Regions from separate parts of the Homo sapiens genome. Here region 2 is linked to region 1. Evidence: promoter capture Hi-C in 16 types of primary human blood cells and fetal thymus (Javierre and others, 2016). All regions are on one chromosome and are shown on one strand. Each heading gives the region's core, a stretch centred on a gene start or on the middle of the fragment in contact. The rest is flanking DNA. Distances are from core to core; before and after follow the strand shown. Region 1 holds the start of ZSWIM7 (zinc finger SWIM-type containing 7). Region 2 overlaps PMP22 (peripheral myelin protein 22).

What was found. Contacts are between HindIII fragments. The CHiCAGO score rates a contact against its expected background, and 5 or more counts as called.
Region 2: a contact is called between a fragment that was not itself captured here and the fragment with the promoter of ZSWIM7 in region 1, in 1 of 17 cell types (erythroblasts). The highest score is 6.5, in erythroblasts.

The regions. Positions count from the first base shown.
Region 1 is chr17:15,997,466-16,001,344 of GRCh38, reverse strand. It overlaps ZSWIM7 (zinc finger SWIM-type containing 7), which reads left to right and starts at 1,641. Exons shown (of 5, transcript NM_001042697.2): 1 at 1,641-1,826. The coding sequence starts at 1,751. TTC19 (tetratricopeptide repeat domain 19) reads right to left here and starts at 1,521. Exons shown (of 10, transcript NM_017775.4): 1 at 1,313-1,521; 2 at 1,100-1,227. The coding sequence starts at 1,496. RefSeq lists silencers at 1,168-1,557, 1,908-2,067 and an enhancer at 1,678-1,767. The HindIII fragment of the contact is 18,071 bases long and covers 1-3,879 here.
Region 2 is chr17:15,241,026-15,244,904 of GRCh38, reverse strand. The region is part of intron 3 of PMP22 (peripheral myelin protein 22); the gene reads left to right. Among named protein-coding and RNA genes, the nearest start is that of MIR4731, 8.7 kb to the left of the region's middle. The HindIII fragment of the contact is 1,476 bases long and covers 1,072-2,547 here.

The DNA of each region.
Region 1 (3,879 bases), core at 392-2,891:
AAAGAAATAGATGTGAAGGGAGGATGGTGAGCCAGAGGATTACTGCCAAATGGGTGGGCAAGGTATATGCTGGTTTAGATCATGTGGGGTGTTGCAAGCCAAGGCAAGGAGTTTGTATTTTATCATAAATGCAGTGGGTAGCCATTCAGAGCTTTCTGACAAGGAGATGACATAATCCAATTTACTCTTTTTTTTTTTGGTCGCTTTGGTTTCTGCATGGAGAATAGATTGCAAGAGGCCAGGAGGCCAGGAAAGACTACTGGAGCATAGTTGGTGGCAATGATGGTTTGCACTAGGGTGACAGCAAGGGAGATAGACAAAAGGGGAAAGATTTGAGAAATATTTTGCATTTGTTGGCAACAGGACTTGTTGCTGGACTGTAAGTGTATTGGAAGGCAATGGTAAGGTACCACAAGTTTTAAGAATGACTATGAGGTTTTTAGGCTGAAAAACTGATGGTAGTAAAGAGATGGCGAAAGCGTATGTTGAGGAGGCATTAAAGATCGTTTAGTTTTGGGCATGTTAAATCTGAGAGGTAGGTATGGTCCTAAAGTGCAAATGGCATGTCAGTAGCACACTACAGAATGGAAATACAAATTTGGACGTTGTTGGCATCGAGTAGGTATTTAGCTCAATGGAAGAGATGAGATAACTTGGGAAAAGAGGAGGAAAAAAAAATAGAAAAGGATGTGGAGAAAAGGAAGAATTCAGGAGGAGAACCGAACCGCATAACCAACACTAAGTTGCCATTTTCAGGCCGCTATATACGTGCGAAATTATGTCATTTCAGATAGGCTGGTTAATTGATAAAACCACTACAAAACGTTCCCGATATTTCGTTTGCATAAAGCGTGATGCCTAGGGCGCCATCTCCATTTGCACTTGACACTGCAGAGGTTTTACTGCAGGCCTTAGAGTCGGAAAAGCCTGGATGGATTCCAATCCCCTCTCGGATGACCCACCTCATTCTCGGCAATTTTACCCGCGGAGCCTCCATCCACTCTTCGGCGAGGCGGAGAGAGTAATGCGCAGCAACGCCAAGACCCCGCTCACAAAGGCTACCGCGCTCGGCCGGGCGCAGGGCCCGGAGCCGCCTCACCTTGGCTCGCTTCAGCAGCTGGATGATCTCTGCCTCGGCCTCGTCCGCCCCGTCCTCGGCAGCGGCCCCGTCGGCTCCCTGCTGCTCCTCCTCCTCTGCCGCAGCGGGCCTCGAGAACCAGGCGAGCGCTGCGGGAAGGGGCTCTGAGGTCATCGGGCCCGGCCCGCGCCCCTGTCCCCGCCCGGCCGGCCCCGCCCGGCCCGCGCCCCTCACCTGCCAGCAGCGGCAGCAGGCCTGGGCCCCGGCCGTGCGGCGCGACTCGGGATGGCGGCACCTGCACCTCGGGCCCCGGACCTCCTGCCAGCCCCGGGAGCAGGCGCGCGGAGCAGCCCCGGCACCGCCGCCCCGCGGCCCGCAGGAAGCCTCGGCCCAGGCTCCAGCTCAGGAGCCGGAACATGCTCCCGCCGCGTCCTCTGCGCACTGCAGGCCAGACGCGCTCCTGGCCCCCGACCACGCGCCGAGCGCCCTCCGGATTGGCCGGGCCCTGACGACTGAGCAGGACATCCCTGCGTCCGCACGCGCGATGACGCGCCCCGACGTCACTCCGTCTCGCCCTGCCCCGGCGGGGGGTCAGGATCCTCCACAGGTAGGCGCAGTCAGCTGGAGCGTCGCGGCGGTCCGCCGGTCGTGGAGGGCGTGTCCTGCGGCGCGATGGCCGTAGTGTTGCCGGCGGTTGTGGAGGAGCTCCTGAGCGAGATGGCGGCGGCGGTGCAGGAGAGCGCGCGAAGTACGGGACCGAGGTCGTGTGTGGCTGCGCCATGGGCGCGGGCGGGGCATCCGGGCACCGCCGGGCCGGGAGGCAGGAGGCGGGGTGTCCGGGCCTGGCCCTGCCTTTTTTCCATGTGGTTCTCTAAACCTCTTGTTCGTAAAAAGACAAAAAAACAAAACAACAAAAAAGCGAAATTGGAACAAGTAAAAGTCAAATCGATTCAGCAAATATTTACGGTACAGCGCAGTTGCAGGAGCCCCTCCGTCGGAGCGAGTAGGCCAGTGGGGACCGAAGTGCTGAGAGCTGGCCGGGTCGCTGGGAGGGGTCCCCGCCCGGGGGTGGAAGGGACGGGAGCCTACAGTGAGTGATAGAAACGTGGAGTTCTTGATTATTTTACACGAAATTTTGAATTATTAAACTTCTTTTTCTCAAATTCTGATGTTAACATTAAAGTTAATGCTTCCATACACTTTAAAAAGTAGGCCCAGCGCAGTGGCTCACTCCCGTAATCCCAGCACTTTGGGAGGCCGAGGCAGTTGGATTACCTAAGGTCAGGAGTTCGAGACCAGCCTGGCCAACATGGTGAAACTTCGTCTCTACTAAAAATACAAAAAATTAGCTGGGCGTGGTGGCGGGCGCCTGTAATTCCAGCTACTCAGGAGGCTGAGGCAGGAGAATCGCTTGAACCCGGGAGGCGGAGGTTGCCGTGAGCCGAGATCGCGCCATTGCACTCCAGCCTGGGCAACAAGAGCGAAATTCCATCTCAAAAAAAAAAAAAAAAGCATTTTAAGAGCCACAAAACCTAAATGCATATGCAATCGTTGGAGTAAATCTGGGTATTGTGAAAGCACCATTTTTTTTCTGACCAGCAGAGGGTACTCTTTGGCTATGCTCACCAAAATCACTTGAGAAGGGTTGATCTCAAGATGTGTTCAGAGTATGCTAGGATAAGATCAAATCAAATTTGATATACTCAAAATGCATTGACTAATGAACTACTCTTAGGATGTAAAAATGGCCACCTTATAAATAACAGCCATATCAGGCCCCCAAACTGCCATCGCTTATTCAACTTGGATGGCTTTTGTTTTAAAAGTACTGTACTGCATTTTGAAAGGGTTTATCTTGAGTTACTGTTTTTAAGGAACTGAGAAAAATAAGCCAACTTTGTTTCCTCATCTCAGTCAAAATTAAGGAGACTTAAGTATATGTGCTTGAAAGATTAGTGCAGCCAAGTATTCAAACATACTTGTTTCCAAAAAGGATGGGAAAAAAGCCAACTGATGTTAGCTTATACAATTGTTCTGGGCTCTCAGATTTGATGGCCTGAGGGTTTGGAATGCTGTCACTTTAAACAATAATCGCCAGAACTGTTCTGTGTCTGAATAGGTTAATCCATACACTGACAGTAGTTTGGGTTGGTTTGTTTTTTTTTTTTAGACAGAGTCTTGCTCTGTCTCCCAGGCTGGAGTGCAATGGGCGATCTCAGCTCAGTGCAACCTCCGCTTCCCAAGTTCAAGTGATTCTCCTGCCTCAGCCTCCCAAGTAGCTGTGACTACAGGCGCATGCCACCACACCCGGCTAATTTGTGTATTTTTAGAAGAGACGGGGTTTCACCATATTGGCCAGGCTGGTCTCAAACTCCTGACCTTGTGATACGGACACCTCAGCCTCCCAAAATGCTGGGATTACAGGCGTGAGCCACCGTGCCCAGCCAGTTTTGGGTTTTTTCCCTCCAACAAGAAGGTTCACAAGACACATTGACAGTCCTGAAGGGGGCATAATCATTGCCCCTGACACCCATGGTTCAGACACAGGAACCAATGCTGTTGATTCATGTTTATTTTCAGAAGCCCTGTTTTCTGTCTTTTTCAAAATCTTTTTTCTATTAATATATAGTTATGCACCCTTCCTAACCCCCATTCTTCAGTGGTAATTTTTTTAGATCAAGATTCCAAGTTTTATTTGTATGATGATATATAAACTAGTCACAGTGGAACCATGTAGGAAGCTATGATTACTTTTTGTTTTCTTTGTAACTTTTGGATTTCCCTGGAGTTACAACTATCTT
Region 2 (3,879 bases), core at 560-3,059, 760 kb after region 1:
TTAATTATTTAAGTAATACAAGTATTATAATACATGAAAATATCCTCAACTGAAAGGCTTCTTGACCAAACTCTTCTTCGTTGCAACAGTAGTTCCTGGGGGAACCCACTGACATCAATTTGACACAACTTTGGCTCTTTCTCTACGAATATTTGCATGCCTGTGGATGTCTATACGCAATTACATAGTTTTTTGGTGTTTGTTTTCATAATGATGACATGTTGTGTGTGCACCTTACTCTTTTCATTGTCTTGGAGACCTTTCAAAGACTCTTCATTTTCTAACTCATGATTTTTTTAACTGCTGCAAAATATTTCATTGTGAGGATATACCATAATTTATTTTCCCTCATAGAAATGCTACAATCAATGTCCTTATTTATTTTCCTCTGAGTATATGTTCACTGTTTTTCCAGGATATAGTAGATAAGCACTTGAACACATATAGTGTCATTACGCTAGAGGTGTTACAATTTTTAAACTACTTTTAATGGCAAAAATTACAATTACTTTTGTATCAACCTAATATATTCTGCCACAAAATGGCTGGTCACAAAAGGATTATAATAATAATATTATTATTATTCCTGTGAATGGTGTCTGCAGGTAGCTATCACTTATTTGTTCTGCTGATATTATCCATTTTTTTTGAATTTTGCCTATTGGCTGGATGAAAATTGGTGTCACCCTCCTCATGGGTTTCTCTTGCATTTCCTTGGTTGCTAGTGAGGTTGGGCACCTTTTACGATGTTTATTGGCTGTTCATATTTCTCCTTTGCTAATCACATGGCTTTTCAATTTTATACTTAGCTGTTTTCTCTTTGTTCTGTCTGTAATTTAATTTTGTTAATGATGCGAACTAGAGATTTAATTTTATGTTTTACCAAATGAATAGCCAACACTATGTATTGTCTGTTGTATTTTTCCCCACTGGTTTATATGATGTTGTGTATTATCTACCAAATTTACATGTATGCTTCCAAAGTCTTATTCCATCCCATTCTTTTATTTTTCTTTCATGATTAACACCATATTTTTGAATTGCTAAAACTTTATAATATAAATATAAGCTTTGTATGTCTATAAATAAAATACATTTTATTAATTATAATTATATGTTATATAATTATAATATAAGCACTTGAACATATATACTTCTATAATTATATATTATATAATTATATATCATACTTCTATGATATGTTCTATAATTATATATTGTATATATCATAGTTCTATGATATGTTCTATAATTATATATTATAAAGTTACAATTAATTGTATATTTAATTTATACCATATACTGTAATAAGCAAAATATAGAAATATGTTTTAAATCTGGTAGGTGGTATCTTGACTCATTGGTTTTATATGTTTTTCTGATTTTCTTTTTGTTCATTTGTTCGTTTTGGTTTTTAGTTGCTGTTGTGTTTACTTCAAATTTTTTCTTATCTGTCATTGCTCATTGTTTTTTAGATGAATTTTTAATTGATTTTTTTCCAGTTCCAGTTGCAATATGGATTAGGACAGCATTGAATTTGTAGATTATTTTGGATGAAATTGGCATCTTTATAACTTTGAGTGTTTCTATCCAGGAACTTAGTATGTTTCTTTAGTACTTCTTTTATGTACTTGAATAAAATTTGTCTAACTTGTTGATGTATCCCCAAAGAACCAGACATTTTTATTAAATGTATTTTAATATTTTTTTCTGTCTCATTAGTCTGTGCTTTTATCCATATTAAGTCAATTAATTTTTGGACTTATTTCATTGTTTTTTTTCTGGCTTCTTGAGTTGAAAGTGTAGTTCACTCTTTTTAAGGATTTTTCTAGCAAATGCTTAGAAGTGTATACATTGTCCTCTGAGAACTGCTTTGGTTACAACCCACAGGTGTGCCATGTGGCTCTCTATATAATTCCTTGCTGAAGAAGTTTTTACTTTTCATCTTGTTTTTTTTAATCCGAGGAATTATCTGGAACACTGTTTTTAAATTTCCAAATTTATTTTGGCTAGTTTGTTTTTAATGTCTAATTTCTGTTTGCCTTTAGGTATATGTTGAGCCTACATCATTTCTGCTTCTATATTTATTGAGATATTCTTTGTTGCCCTTATAGTCAGTTTGAAAAGCTGTCCCATGTGTGTTTGAAAATAACTTTGCTATATAGACACAAGTTTTCTATACATCTATTAGGACAGATTTGTTAATCCTCTTATGTAATCTATATTCTTTCTTCTTTTTGGTCTACCTGACATCTATTTTGAGGAAGGAAGCTAAAGTCTTCTACTGTTATTGTGATTTTAACAATTTCTTCTCATATTTTGATTACTTTTTGATTTTAACTTTTTCAGGCCATGTTATTATATGCATAATGATTTATTTTCTTCAGTCATAGATCATGTAAACCAGAAGTAAAGATCAAATAAACCAAATCTTTCCTCTATGAAACAACCAAACAACTCTCTGGCCACTTTTATCCTTTCAACATAAGTTCTATTTTTTATTATTAATTTATCTTCTTTCTTTTTTGTTAACATTTGCCTGAAGCTTCTTTTCAGAATCTTTTTTGTTTTTGACTGTTGCTTGTTTTAGGTGTATCTATTATATTAGAATATAGCTACAATGTCTCTCTTTTTTTTTTTTTTTTTTTTTTTTGAGACAGAGTCTCTCTCTGTGCCCAGGCTGGAGTGCAGTGGTGTGATCTTGGCTCACTACAACCTCCACCTCCTGAGTTCAAGCGATTCTCTGCCTCAACCTCCCAAGTAGCTGGGACTATAGGTGTCCACCAGCACACCTGGCCAATTTTTTTGTATTTTTCGTAGAGATGGGGTTTTGGCATGTTGGCCAGGCTGGTCTTGAACTCCTGGCCTCAAGTGATCTACCTGCCTCAGCCTCCCAAAATGTCTTAATCAAAGATAAAATTCCATATCTTATGAGTGCCTTGAACCCATTCACATATAATGTGGTTGATGATAGACTTACTATCTTAATGCATGTGTTTTATTTATTGTGCTTATGGTTGAAAACCATCTTCTTCATCTCTGGATCATCAGAGTCAACCAGAGGGCTTGGCTCAAAGCAGTAGGTATTCAACAAATGCTCATTGAATAAAAATGTCCTTGATCCTCTAATTCTGATTTGATTCGAGAAATAACTTATGGCAAAGAGCTCAATTGTAATGGGGTTGGGACTAAAATTCAAGTTAATGTTGAAAGATGTTTCAAGAAGTATTTAGGTTATATTATTAAATATTAGACACTTTCTGTTTATATAGATTTAACATATAAAGATTTTAAGTTTTCTGTGTATGTGAGGTCTCGTAGTAGTTTCTGCTGAAAATGACAGGGGCGCGGGGTTAAGGGTGAAGACAGTATCTCAGGATTGGAGAAGGAAATCTAAGATATTGTCTCCACCAGCCATACTCCTCATGAACATGCACATGGAAGGACATTTCCCAGCCAAAGTGAATCCCTTTATTTGTTTTAGTTTCAGATTTGAGTCTCAGATTTCTTTGTAATTCCAGCTGCATCTACCAAAGTGCTAGATAATTTTTTTATTTTAAGCAAACAATATTATGAGAACATTATCTTTATTGCAAAGTGCTCCTCCAGAAGAACCTCTATGCTGGATAAAGACAAACATTTGATTAAGGTTATGTAAGAGTGAAATCAGGATGGCTCACAACCCATTAGCCGTCATTTTCTTACTTTAATTGACAAAGAAATTGAAAAAATGAAAGAAGCATATGTTGTGCTTGAATGTGAAGAGTGCTAGACTAGAATCAAAGGCCTCTTAGATTTGGCTGTGTCATTTGGGCTCATGAAAACACCTCTGGAAATCTCTTTCAGTGCAAAGGAGCTGGACTAGTTGATCTCTCAGGT